Regions from separate parts of the Homo sapiens genome. Here region 2 is linked to region 1. Evidence: promoter capture Hi-C in human tissues and cell types (Jung and others, 2019). All regions are on one chromosome and are shown on one strand. Each heading gives the region's core, a stretch centred on a gene start or on the middle of the fragment in contact. The rest is flanking DNA. Distances are from core to core; before and after follow the strand shown.

The links. The method cuts DNA at HindIII sites, captures the fragments that hold promoters and counts their contacts. A contact is called where the count stands out against the background at its distance.
Region 2: a fragment that was not itself captured here is called in contact with the fragment with the promoter of CPT1A in region 1 in 1 of the 25 tissues and cell types used here (H1 embryonic stem cells).

What each region holds. Positions count from the first base shown.
Region 1 is chr11:68,839,882-68,845,456 of GRCh38, forward strand. It overlaps CPT1A (carnitine palmitoyltransferase 1A), which reads right to left and starts at 2,035. Exons shown (of 19, transcript NM_001876.4): 1 at 1,894-2,035. RefSeq lists enhancers at 61-220, 2,429-2,954, 3,677-3,816, 3,857-4,066 and silencers at 874-1,153, 1,204-1,303, 1,564-1,643, 1,854-1,903, 1,924-2,283. The HindIII fragment of the contact is 31,646 bases long and covers 1-5,575 here.
Region 2 is chr11:68,567,437-68,572,618 of GRCh38, forward strand. It overlaps PPP6R3 (protein phosphatase 6 regulatory subunit 3), which reads left to right. Exons shown (of 24, transcript NM_001164161.2): 11 at 2,312-2,461; 12 at 3,604-3,668. Among named protein-coding and RNA genes, the nearest start is that of PPP6R3, 110 kb to the left of the region's middle. The HindIII fragment of the contact is 3,874 bases long and covers 1,015-4,888 here.

The DNA.
Region 1 (5,575 bases), core at 785-3,284:
CTCTTCCCCTCCAGGGTAGGCGGCTTGTTTTTAGTACCAACTCGAAACGTTATTTTGGCCTGTGCATGATGCCAACTTCTGCCACTTTGAAACAAAGTGTGTGCACTCCCAAACCTGGCCCTTTTTATTGTTTGATTCCAACTGTTAAGATAGGGTTCAAGTGCAAGGTCTAGGCTAGCAATGCTTCACAGGAAGGAAACCAGTAATTTACATGCGAAAAGCAGTCCACAGGCTCTTGGTATTGAGGCAAAACCAATCCAAAGAACCAGCTGCGAATGCTGATAGTCCCCAGACCAACTGACAGCTGGATGTTCGCTGGCCTCAGCGGTGTGCATTCTCAGCGACACTTATGTCCTCAATTTATTGCTACGTTCACTCGGTCAGAGTCGCCTTAAAGAATTTGGAAAGGCCCGGGGGTGGGGGTGCTTCCTGGCATAAATAGAAGACCAGTGCTCAGCCATTTTTTATTCACTTGGTTTGTGGCTTAGAATGAAATAAACATGCTTGCATATCTGGAATGACCAGAAACCGGACACCTGTGGAAGAAAATGGTGTAACAAAATACAACGTTGCAAAAGGTAAAACCGATTTTCATTTTATTCGGTAACTTACAAAGTTACCAGCTTCCTACTAAAATCTGCCCTTAAATATTTTATAACACACGGAGCCGAGAGGAACCGAAAGCCTGTGCCGAGTTGGGAATATTAACTTTGTTATGTATTTAACCTGGTAGGTAGTTGGGATTTTTAACTCTCTGAGTTGTTTTCTTTTTTTAAAGTAAGATCGGCCCTCATCTTTGAGTTCTGCGGCTTTAACGAAAGCCAAGGGCGGATTTACATTATAAAGACGCTGACCCATGGCCTCTCCTGACAAACCGAAAGAAGCCGGCTGTTGGCTGGCCGCGGCGGTGGCTCCGAGAAGGGGCTGCCCCGCGTGGCCCTGACCGCACCGTCGGGCTCGCAGGCCAAGTTCGCCAGGGCACGGCCACGTGACACCCCCACCCTCCCGCGGCCCCGCCGCTCCCAGCCCGGCACGACCTTGGGCACATGCTCCGCGCCCACCCGCCCTTGACCCAGCGCTGCACGGGAGAGGCTGCGGGGCGCTCCCAAGCAGGCACTGGGCCCGGCACCCTCATCCTGCTCACGGCAGCGCTCGGACCGCGCCTGGAGTCCCTGCGCCAAGGGCGTGTCCCGACGGCTGCACCGCGAGGGCGGGCATGGGGAGGGGGACCGGGGAGACGGACGCTGGGATGGGGTCAGCGGCGCCCTGCCGAATCCCGAGGGCCGAGCACCCCTCCCTCAGCCGCACTGCACCTGCCCGTAGGTGACCAACCCACGGGCGGACCCCCAGACCCAATCCTCTCCAGAGCCAGGGTGGGATGGGCAGGGACAGGAGCCGGAGGCCCTACTGGCCCCGGGCGAAGGCATCCTGGAAAGCATCCAGAGCGTCCAGCATCCCTCCCGCGGCCACCCGCAGGCTGACCGACCCCTGGGCAGACCCTCAGACTCAATCCAGTCCAGGGCGGATTAAGGAGTGGGAGACAAGGGAGCCGGTGGCCCCGCTGGCCCCGGGCCGGAGGCGTCCAGCCAAGTCCGGAGGGCCGAGCATCCCTCCCGCGGCCGCACGGGACCCGCCTGCGGATGGACCGACCCCCGGTGGACCCTCAGACCCAATCCCCTGGGGAACATGGGGAGCCCCGGCCTCTTTCTGGGTTCAGGATCTCCACAACCCCGCCGTCCGGGGGGAATACCGGGGTTCCTCTCGGCGCCCCGGTTCCGGCGGCGTCCCCCACCCGGTCCGGTTCCCGGCAGCCCCGCGCCCCGCCCGTCCCCGGCCCCCGCAGCCCGCAGGGCCGCCCCGCCACCCTCCCCACCGCGGGCGACCGGGCCTCACCGAGTCAGCTACGGAGGTGCGGCAGCGGCAGCGGCAGCGGCGGCGGCGGCGGCGGCGGTGGAGTGAACGAGCGGCGAGCGGGAGCCGGGGAAGGAGGGCCGCGGGCGAGGCCGAGCGCACCCGACGCCGGCAGCAGCGGATTGGCTGAGGCGGGTCCGGCTGCGGCGCCTGCAGGCGGGTGACTCCCGGCGCGCGGAGGGCGGGCCCGGGGCCTCGGCGGGGCGGGGCGTCCGCGGGGCTAGGAGGGGAGGGAAACTGAGGCTCGAGCGGGTGCTCGCGTCCTCGACCTCTGCCGGAATGGGGTCTAGGACGAGATTCCTCACCCTCCGAGCCTCAGTTTCCTCATCCGTAAAACGAGCCATCTCGTGGAGGCCGTGCGCATAAAATCGCTTAGCTCCGTGCCTGGCTGATCCTCGCGACTTATCTATCGGCATTGCCCCGTGTAATGCTCCAGGCACCCCCTGATGGTATTCACCCCTGACTCTTTCATGCAGACAAGGGTCGCGGGCCAGGAAATAAGTTACCCCACATCACCGAGCTGAGAAGCAACCGATCCACAGGGAGTGGTGGGGCGCGCCTGTAATCCCAGCTACTCGGGAGGCGGGAAGTCGCTTGAAGCCAGGAGTTCGAGGCCAGCCTGGGCAACGTAGCGAGACCCCGTCTCTAAAAAAAAAAGCGCGGGGAAGTGATAGATCGGACATTGGGTCCAGATCTGATTCCACAGCCCATGCCCCAAATCAGACCTTATACCACGAGTGGCAGTCATCGCGATCCAGAGGCAGCGTGGCTCCTCCTCATCTAGCTAGGATAAAAATGCCTCACTTGGGGGGCTTTGGTGAGATTTACTAAAATAATTCTTCCAGCGTCAAGAACATAATAGGTGCTGGGAGAGGAGTAGCTGGAGGCCAGGGCAGAGCGACCGAGAGACCCTTGTGCTGGAGCTCGGGAGAGGGGCCGGGAGCGGGAACTGAACATCCACCGGTCCCAGGAGTCTAGGGCGAGCGCAGCTGCAGGGGACCCAGGGGGTTGAGGGGGAGGGAGAGGGGCCCCAAGCGTAACAGGAGGGCCAAGGGGGTCTTCCTGACCGGGAGCCACCCCTCCCCTATCTTTGCCCGCAATGCTTCCAGGCGCGAGCTGGCGGCTCTGCATACAGCAGGTGCTCCATAAATGCACCGATGTTATGAACAAAGACTCTTTTAAACCTCTTTTATGAACCCTGCTCTTTTTAAGTTCGACCACTTCTTCTAGTTATGAAAAAATCCATGTTTGCAACCATCCTTCTTTCTGTATCATTTAGTTGTTACCGCAGAAGAATTTAGAAGAGAAAATGAAAGTTCTCCTTTGATCCCGCCCCCCACCACCGCTGCAGTTAACTCTCCCTGCGGTTCCCGGGCTCGCTGTTTTAAAGGAAGGCTAGGATGCAAGCTGTCTGTAAGGCTGTTTTGTTTTCACTTGGCTTACGTCGTAGACAGGTCTCTGCTGGGGGACGGAGATGACCACCGGCCTTCCCAAGGCTGCATAAGATTTCCTTTGACTATGCTGTGATCCATTTACGCGGCCCCCATTGGACAATTAGGGCCTCCTCCCCGCCCCCCACCCCACCATTGCAGGTATAAATAAAAGCTGCGTTGGCCGTCGATGTACCTCCTGGAGCTCCTGATTATCCTGTAGGATAGATCCCTGGAGGGGAAGCAACCAGGCACGTGCGACATTTTGGTGACACAGGCCAAGCTACCATGCCGAAAAGTTTACCAACTTCCACTGCCACCCGCGCGTGCAAGCGGGGCCCTGTCTCCGATTATGGATTATTTTAATCTTTGCCAATCCTAAAAGGAGGGGTGGGGGAGGGAAGAATCTCTCATCTCTCCTTTTAATTTGCATTTCTTTGAGGTTAGAAGTTGGGGGTTTGTCCCCCTGCTTGCGCTTGTCTGGACCACCAGTGAGCCCAGGCACTCGACCCCCGCAGATTTCACCGCCCCAAGAGGCCAGTGGGCTGGGCCAGGGCACACGTTCCTGACGCGCGGCTGCACCCCACGAGCCCGGGCGGCTCTCGCGCGTGAGGCTCTCCTTGCACGTGGGCCTTCGCGGTTTGCACTACGGAAGCTGGACTGTCATTCTCACCGCAAATGCCCTTCCCTCCTTTCCCTGGAACCTCAGCCACCGACAGGTCCCCGCTCCAAGGTCATTTCCTCCCTCGCTCAGCGCCCCGGTGCGCGCCCAGCTGGGATTGGCCCCGCGCCCTGTCTGTTCCCAGGGCTCTTCGGCCTTGACCGTGCGCCCTTCCCTGCGCGCCGCCTAGGTGCCACCTGCAGGCCGGGCGGGGCAGGGACAGGGACCCAGTCTGTGGGGACGCCGAGGCGCCACGCTCACCTGTGCCATGGTGGCCGGGCTCTCGGCAGCTGCAACGAGCCCGCGCCGGCCTGCAACTGCAGCCGCACTGGGGAGGCCTTATTCCCCTCCCGCCGACCACGCTGCAGCTCTCCTGCCCGGGTCTGCGGCTCCCGCGGCTGCGTAGCTGAGTCTATTAATAAAGAAGCAGAGAACGAGGCCTCCCGGGGAGCTCCGGGCCTGAGCCTCAGTTCCCTGGGGCCAAAAACGTCTCCATGTCTGCCTCTGAAACTAGAGTAATCTTTCTCAAGCCTTGTTTTTTACAGATTCTGCCCCAGTTTGAATACTGTAGCAATTGCCTACCATAGCTACAAGAAAAATTTTCTTTTTAATGCAGGTAATGTTTTTATTTACCGCTAAGATTTCTCTTTTTACTCAAAAAATACTTTTTTATGGAAAAATCCAAACCTTTTTATTCATTCGTTCATTCATTCATTCATTTTTGAAACAGGATCTCTCTCTGTTGCCCATGCTGCAGGGCAGTAGCAAAATGACAGCTCACTGCAGTGTTGACATCCTAGGCTCAAGCAATCCTCCTACCCCAGCTTCCTGAGTAGCTGGGACCACAGGCAAGTCCCGCCATGCCTGGCTAATATTTTGAAAAATCCAAACCTTTGAAAAAAATTAACCAGAATAGTATAATAAAGGCCTATACAACCAAAACTCAACATCAACCATTATGGAGCTAGGGCCAAGGTGTATGCCTGTGTTCCTACCCACTCCTGCCCAGTCCTACTGTTTATTTTAAAGCAAATTCAGAAATCCTACCGTTATGTCCACAAATTCCTTTTTTTTTTTTTGACATGGAGTCTTGCTCTGTCCCCCAGGTTGGAGTGCAGTGGCGCAATCTCACCTCACTGCAACCTCTGCCTCCAGGGCTCAAGCGATTCTCATACCTCAGCCTCCCGAGTAGCTGAGATTACAGACGTGCATCACCATGCTCGGTAATTTTTGTATTTTTAGTAGAGACAGGGTTTCACCATGTTGGGCCAGGCTAGTCTCCAACTCCTGATCTCTGGTGATCCATCTGCCTCAGCCTCCCAAAGTGCTGGGATTACGGGTGTGAGCCACTGCGCCCAGCCCTCAAATTCTCGAGTACAAACCTCTAAAAGATAAATATTCTTAACTAAAAAATATGACCATACTATCATTGTCCCACCTAAAATAGATGAACAATTGTTACAGAAAATGGTAAACCCTGTTGCCTGCCAAGAGCACAGCTGAGTCCCCACTCGATCTCGCCAGCCTCATTTCTTGCTGGCAGCTCCCAGCAGATTCTGATCCAGAAGTGTGT
Region 2 (5,182 bases), core at 1,702-4,201, 270 kb before region 1:
TCTCGTGGACAATGACTGCTGGGTGCAGCATTGTTTTCTGTTCATATTTAGTGAGGGGACAAACCTTTATCTTCTTGCCACTGGGAGGTATCTGTATAACGTACCTGACGCCATATGGTCTTAATTGATTTGAGTCTGGATTGACTCTTCCTTGAGACACAGTTATTAGCCTGCTTACTGATGGAAGGAGAAGGAAAAGCCCAGGGATGATTTAGGTCTCCCTGACCCCTGAATTCCCCAGTTTCAGAGTCTGTGCTTAGAATCCATAGGCCCAGCTCTGGAGCCCATGCTTCTTCTCTGTGTGCTGCCACCCACAGCACAGAAAGCGCGAGGGTTAACACTTTAGCAGGTTTCACAAGACATCTGGTCACATCATATATTTGGGGGAGATGTGGGGGTGTTTCAAAGGAGGTGTTTGTTCACTGTATGACAGGCATTGTAATGTTCATCTTATGTACACTATTCATGTGATCCTGGGTGATCTCCAGGACCCTCGGGTGAACATTACAGTGAGAGAGAGGATGTGTTTTTCAGATCATGCCCAGAGAGAGGATACATTCCATGGCTAGTGAGCGGTGAAGCCAAGATTTGAATTCACCCAATTTCAAACCCATACGTGCTTTATCAACCACATCATTGTGCTTCCTAGCGTCACCGAGATATTTTTGTTAGGTTTCAGCTTTGGGTTAAATCAGTATAGAGCACAGAAAACAGGAGCAATTTGGAAAAAGAGATGAAGATTTAAAGAATTACAGTTTCTTTGATAGCTAGCATGGTCATTGCCTTCTGGGGACGTAGTTTTTGTCCTACCTTCTAGTGTATAAAACTCCGGGAATATAACGTTCCTAAGTCATTGATCACTGGTCTTTAATTTTACTAATAACAATATACAGTTATTGTTAATTTATTCTGTTAATCTTTAGGACTACTTCTGATGAGACTAAATTTGATGAGACTACTGGAGGAGTTACTCATTACTTCTTCATTTTGAGATTAGATAACCAGACCCAACCATTTCCTAAATATGACATACTAAATTGACTTCCAAAATATGGCATTTTGTACTTTTAGAAATTCTTTCCCTTTTGTAATGCTATTACCTTTTCAAGTAATTTGAAAACCCTTGTACTTCCAGGAGATTCACGTTACTGCCTCTCGTATCCTCATTTGTTTTTGCTGATAGCTCTAGTTTTTGTATGCTGGAGTTGAGTCATGAGCACCTCAAGACTGTGGACCGTATTTTTGTGTATCTCTGTCTGCCATGTTGCATCTCATACAATACCCTGCACAAAAACCATCAGTAAATATTTGTTGCATCAAAATGAAATTCTTACAATTTTTTTTTTTTTTTGAGATGGAGTCTGGCTCAGTCGCCCAGGCTGGAGTGCAGTGATCTTGGCTCACTGCAAGCTCCGCCTCCTGGGTTCACGCCATTCTCCTGCCTCAGCCTCCTGAGTAGCTGGGGCCACAGGCGCCCGCCACCACACCCAGCGATTTTTTTGTATTTTTAGTAGAGACGGGGTTTCACCGTGTTAGGATGGTCTTGATCTCCTGACCTCGTGATCCGCCCGCCTCGGCCTCCCAGAGTGCAGAGATTACAGGCATGAGCCACCACGCCTGGCCTCTTATAAATTTTTTTGAAAATTATAGAAAATTTACCACGCTAACTATTTGTGTTAGTTGCTTTGAAGAGAAAAAAGATACTCCCTTTCTCTTGGAGAAACGTACTCTTGTCTTTGTATGTTTGTTGTTGGTTTTTTACTAGATTCCATACCAGTTCTGGCATGTCAGATAAGCAGATAGCACGCCATTTAGGCTCTAAAGCAATACTTCACATCCCCATTTAGTCCTCGTTATTTATGAGGGATACCTTCCAAGACTCCTTTGGATGCCTGAAACCACAGCTATCGAACCCTATATATACTATGTGTTTTTCCTATACATACCTGTGACAAAGTTTAATTTATAAATTAAGCACAGGAAGAGATTAATAATAACTAATAATAAAGTAGAACAATTATAAATCTATACTGTAATGAATGTTATGTGAATGTCATCTCTTGGATTAGCATGTCTTACTGTATTATACTCACCTATTTTCAGATCATGGTTGACTGTGGGTAACTGAAACCACAGAAAATGAAACTGTGGTTATGCAAGTACTAATGTGAACTCAGGTTCCTTTTAATTGGTCCTTTTGGACTGAGAGCACATCATTTTTACTTTATTAAATCACTGTTCTGTAAATGTATTTAAGTATTGGCTTAAACATTGAGGTAACCGAATAAAACATGGTTTTTCTTTTTTGTAGAACATGTTCTTCAAGTATACATGGAATAACTTTTTGCATACACAAGTGGAAATTTGTATTGCACTGATTCTTGCAAGTCCTTTTGAAAACACAGAAAATGCCACAATTACCGATCAAGACTCCACTGGTGATAATTTGTTATTAAAACATGTAAGCTTATTTGGTCTCGTTTTTCTCCCACTCTCTCCTGGTTATAGCAGTTTTCCACTTGACTGTGATGTGAATTGAGGTTTAAAGGGCTTGAGGTTAGATTTCAGAGTCTAAATATTTGACAATCATGTGTTCGTTTCACTTTTAACATATAAATCATTATATAAATCAAGTACTGGACAAATAACTATTAAATGAACAGTCTTGTAAGAAAAAAGCTAAGTGGCCTCCTTATTTGGTAAAATTAATAGGTTTGAAGATATATAAATTCTTTGATGATTTGAAGAATCATAGAAATTTAAATACTATGGAAAACATTTGCACTATTATTTGGCTGACCAGAGTGTAGTTTCTTTGCTGAATACGTGACTGAAAGTCAGGAGAACTGAGTTCTTTGTGATGTTGAGAGTCTTCCTGGGGTCTCTTTTTCTCTTCTGTCAAATATGAGATAATTTTACTAAGTCAGTCTTCAGATTTTTTCTTGCTTGGTAGTTCTATGGTACTTTTAAAATTTCTAGCCCACACTTGGTTTACTCGCAAACCTAAAATGTAGAAAAGGCTAGCTTGGAACAGCCAAGTTGATGGGAAAGACAAATGACACCTGAGAAGAACTAGCCCTGCACATTCCAGTATTGCAGCCTACAGCAGTTGTCACTGACTTGCAGACTTTGGGCAAAACCCACCTGTTTTTAATATTAATGCAGTAATGTTAGTTCATCTGGAAGTAAGACGTGCTCACATTTTAAAAGTACAAGCATTACTTTGGATTCTAAGTTAAATTTTTGCCAAGGCATAGTTTTCTTTATTCCATTTTAATTTAGCTCAGGTTTTATATTTCTGTTCTGAATTTTCACAGCTAATAAAACCTGGCTTTCCTTTATAGTTAACTATAGGTAGTTAACTGCACTACCTATAATACTGAGTTTCCTGTAGATGTTCTGTGGAGGGTGTGGATCCTGATTTGAATCTCTGTAGTGTTGTGGGTGTCTGCAGTAGATTGATGATCACATTGCATTTGGCTTAGTAACATTTAGCTTGCTAGATTATGCATACTACTATTCTCTTTAACCTAGAGTTCTGTTTCACTTTAAAGTTTTGATGCTTTGAAGTATTAACTGGAATATTCTTTTTTTTTTTTTCAGCTTTTCCAAAAATGTCAATTAATAGAACGAATACTTGAAGCCTGGGAAATGAATGAGAAGAAACAGTAAGTAAATTGTTTTTTTGAAAGGAATTCAGTTTGGTTGGTAATATGAGGAAAATAATACCTCCTTGCCCTAGTCAGAAAAAAATGGAAATAATTACATGATACTGGCCATTTTACAATTTAAACTTTTCCCCAGATTATTTCATTGTAACAGTTGTTTTTATAATACTAATAATTTCTTGTTAGGTCCTCTTGTTTTTGGGGCAAAACAAGTGAGTTCGGAGTGTTCCCCACCTCTGTGCTGCCTTTGAAACTTCCTGGTCCTTTTTGAATGGCTACTGTTCTAAGAGTTATAAGGTTAAAGTTAAGTCCTTGATGATGTGACTTAGTGTATTTGTCCTGGTCACCTTATGCTCAGAACAGAAGGTATCACGTACATATTTTCATTGTAGAGAAGAGTTGCTTTGTACAGGGACCTAGAGGAAAAAAATTGCTCAGTGTTTTCTTTTTAGAAAATGTTTGTTAGCTGATTGGCAAGGTTATGTGAAGTATTAGTTGATACATGTAAGTAGCTTTGTTACACAAAACGTTTTCTTACAGGTGTTGTCTGTAACAGCATTCCTCTCTAGTGCCCTGGAAGCCTTTATGTCACCCCGTAGATTCTGAAGCATGGTGGCATAAGGGCGTGTTTGGGAAACACTCTGAAGGCATGCTTCTGTGTTTGTTTTTAAGACAGGTTTATTGAGATATAATTCTCATATGGTAAAGCTCATTTTAGGTGTACATTCCTAGGAATTCTGACTGATGCCTGAAGTCACCATCACCACAATCAAGACATTTCTGTCACCCCCAAAATTTCTCTCATGGTCCTTTGTAGTTGATCATTTCCCAGCATTCTTGTTATGTGTCTCTGTGTCTCCAGGAAAGCTAGATGACTCTTGGGAGTCAGCCTTACTTTGTGAGGTTTGATTTTTTTTTTTTAAATCGTTTAATAAGCACTGCTACTAGGGTTTTGATTTGGCTTCATGTGGGAAATTGGCATTTTGTTTGTTTGTTTGTGGCAAGGGGCTAGTATTGGTAGACCTCAGATACATTCTTCCAAATGGAGCTCTTTGGAGATGCTGTTTGTGGCCCAGTTGACATCTCTGGTTATATGTCTGACTCCGTCTTGGCTTCTCTGTGTCCTTCCCAACCTCCAGTCTTCTTGCTGCCTCCTCATCTGGCCAGGGCTCAGATATCCTTTGTGCCCTGCTCTCCTGGTGAGTCCCGTTTTCTGGAGGCCTGGTGAATACCATTCCCTCTGTCTAGGGGGATCCCGAAAGAACTTTCCTTGTTTCCTTGCACAACAGCCTGAAGCAGTTTGAAGCTGTGGGTCACCTTAGAGATGGGCCTTTGTTTTCTTTCACTTGTGTACTTGAGGGTGTGCAGAAGAGTGACTCAGTTGCCTGTAGGTAACACCTGGCTCTCTGGATCTTACTGAAGAACTAAAAGAGACTCTGAGCAACTCAGTGAAGATTGACTCTGGCCAGGCACGGTGGGAGATGCCTGTAATCCCACTGCTTTGGGAGGCTGAG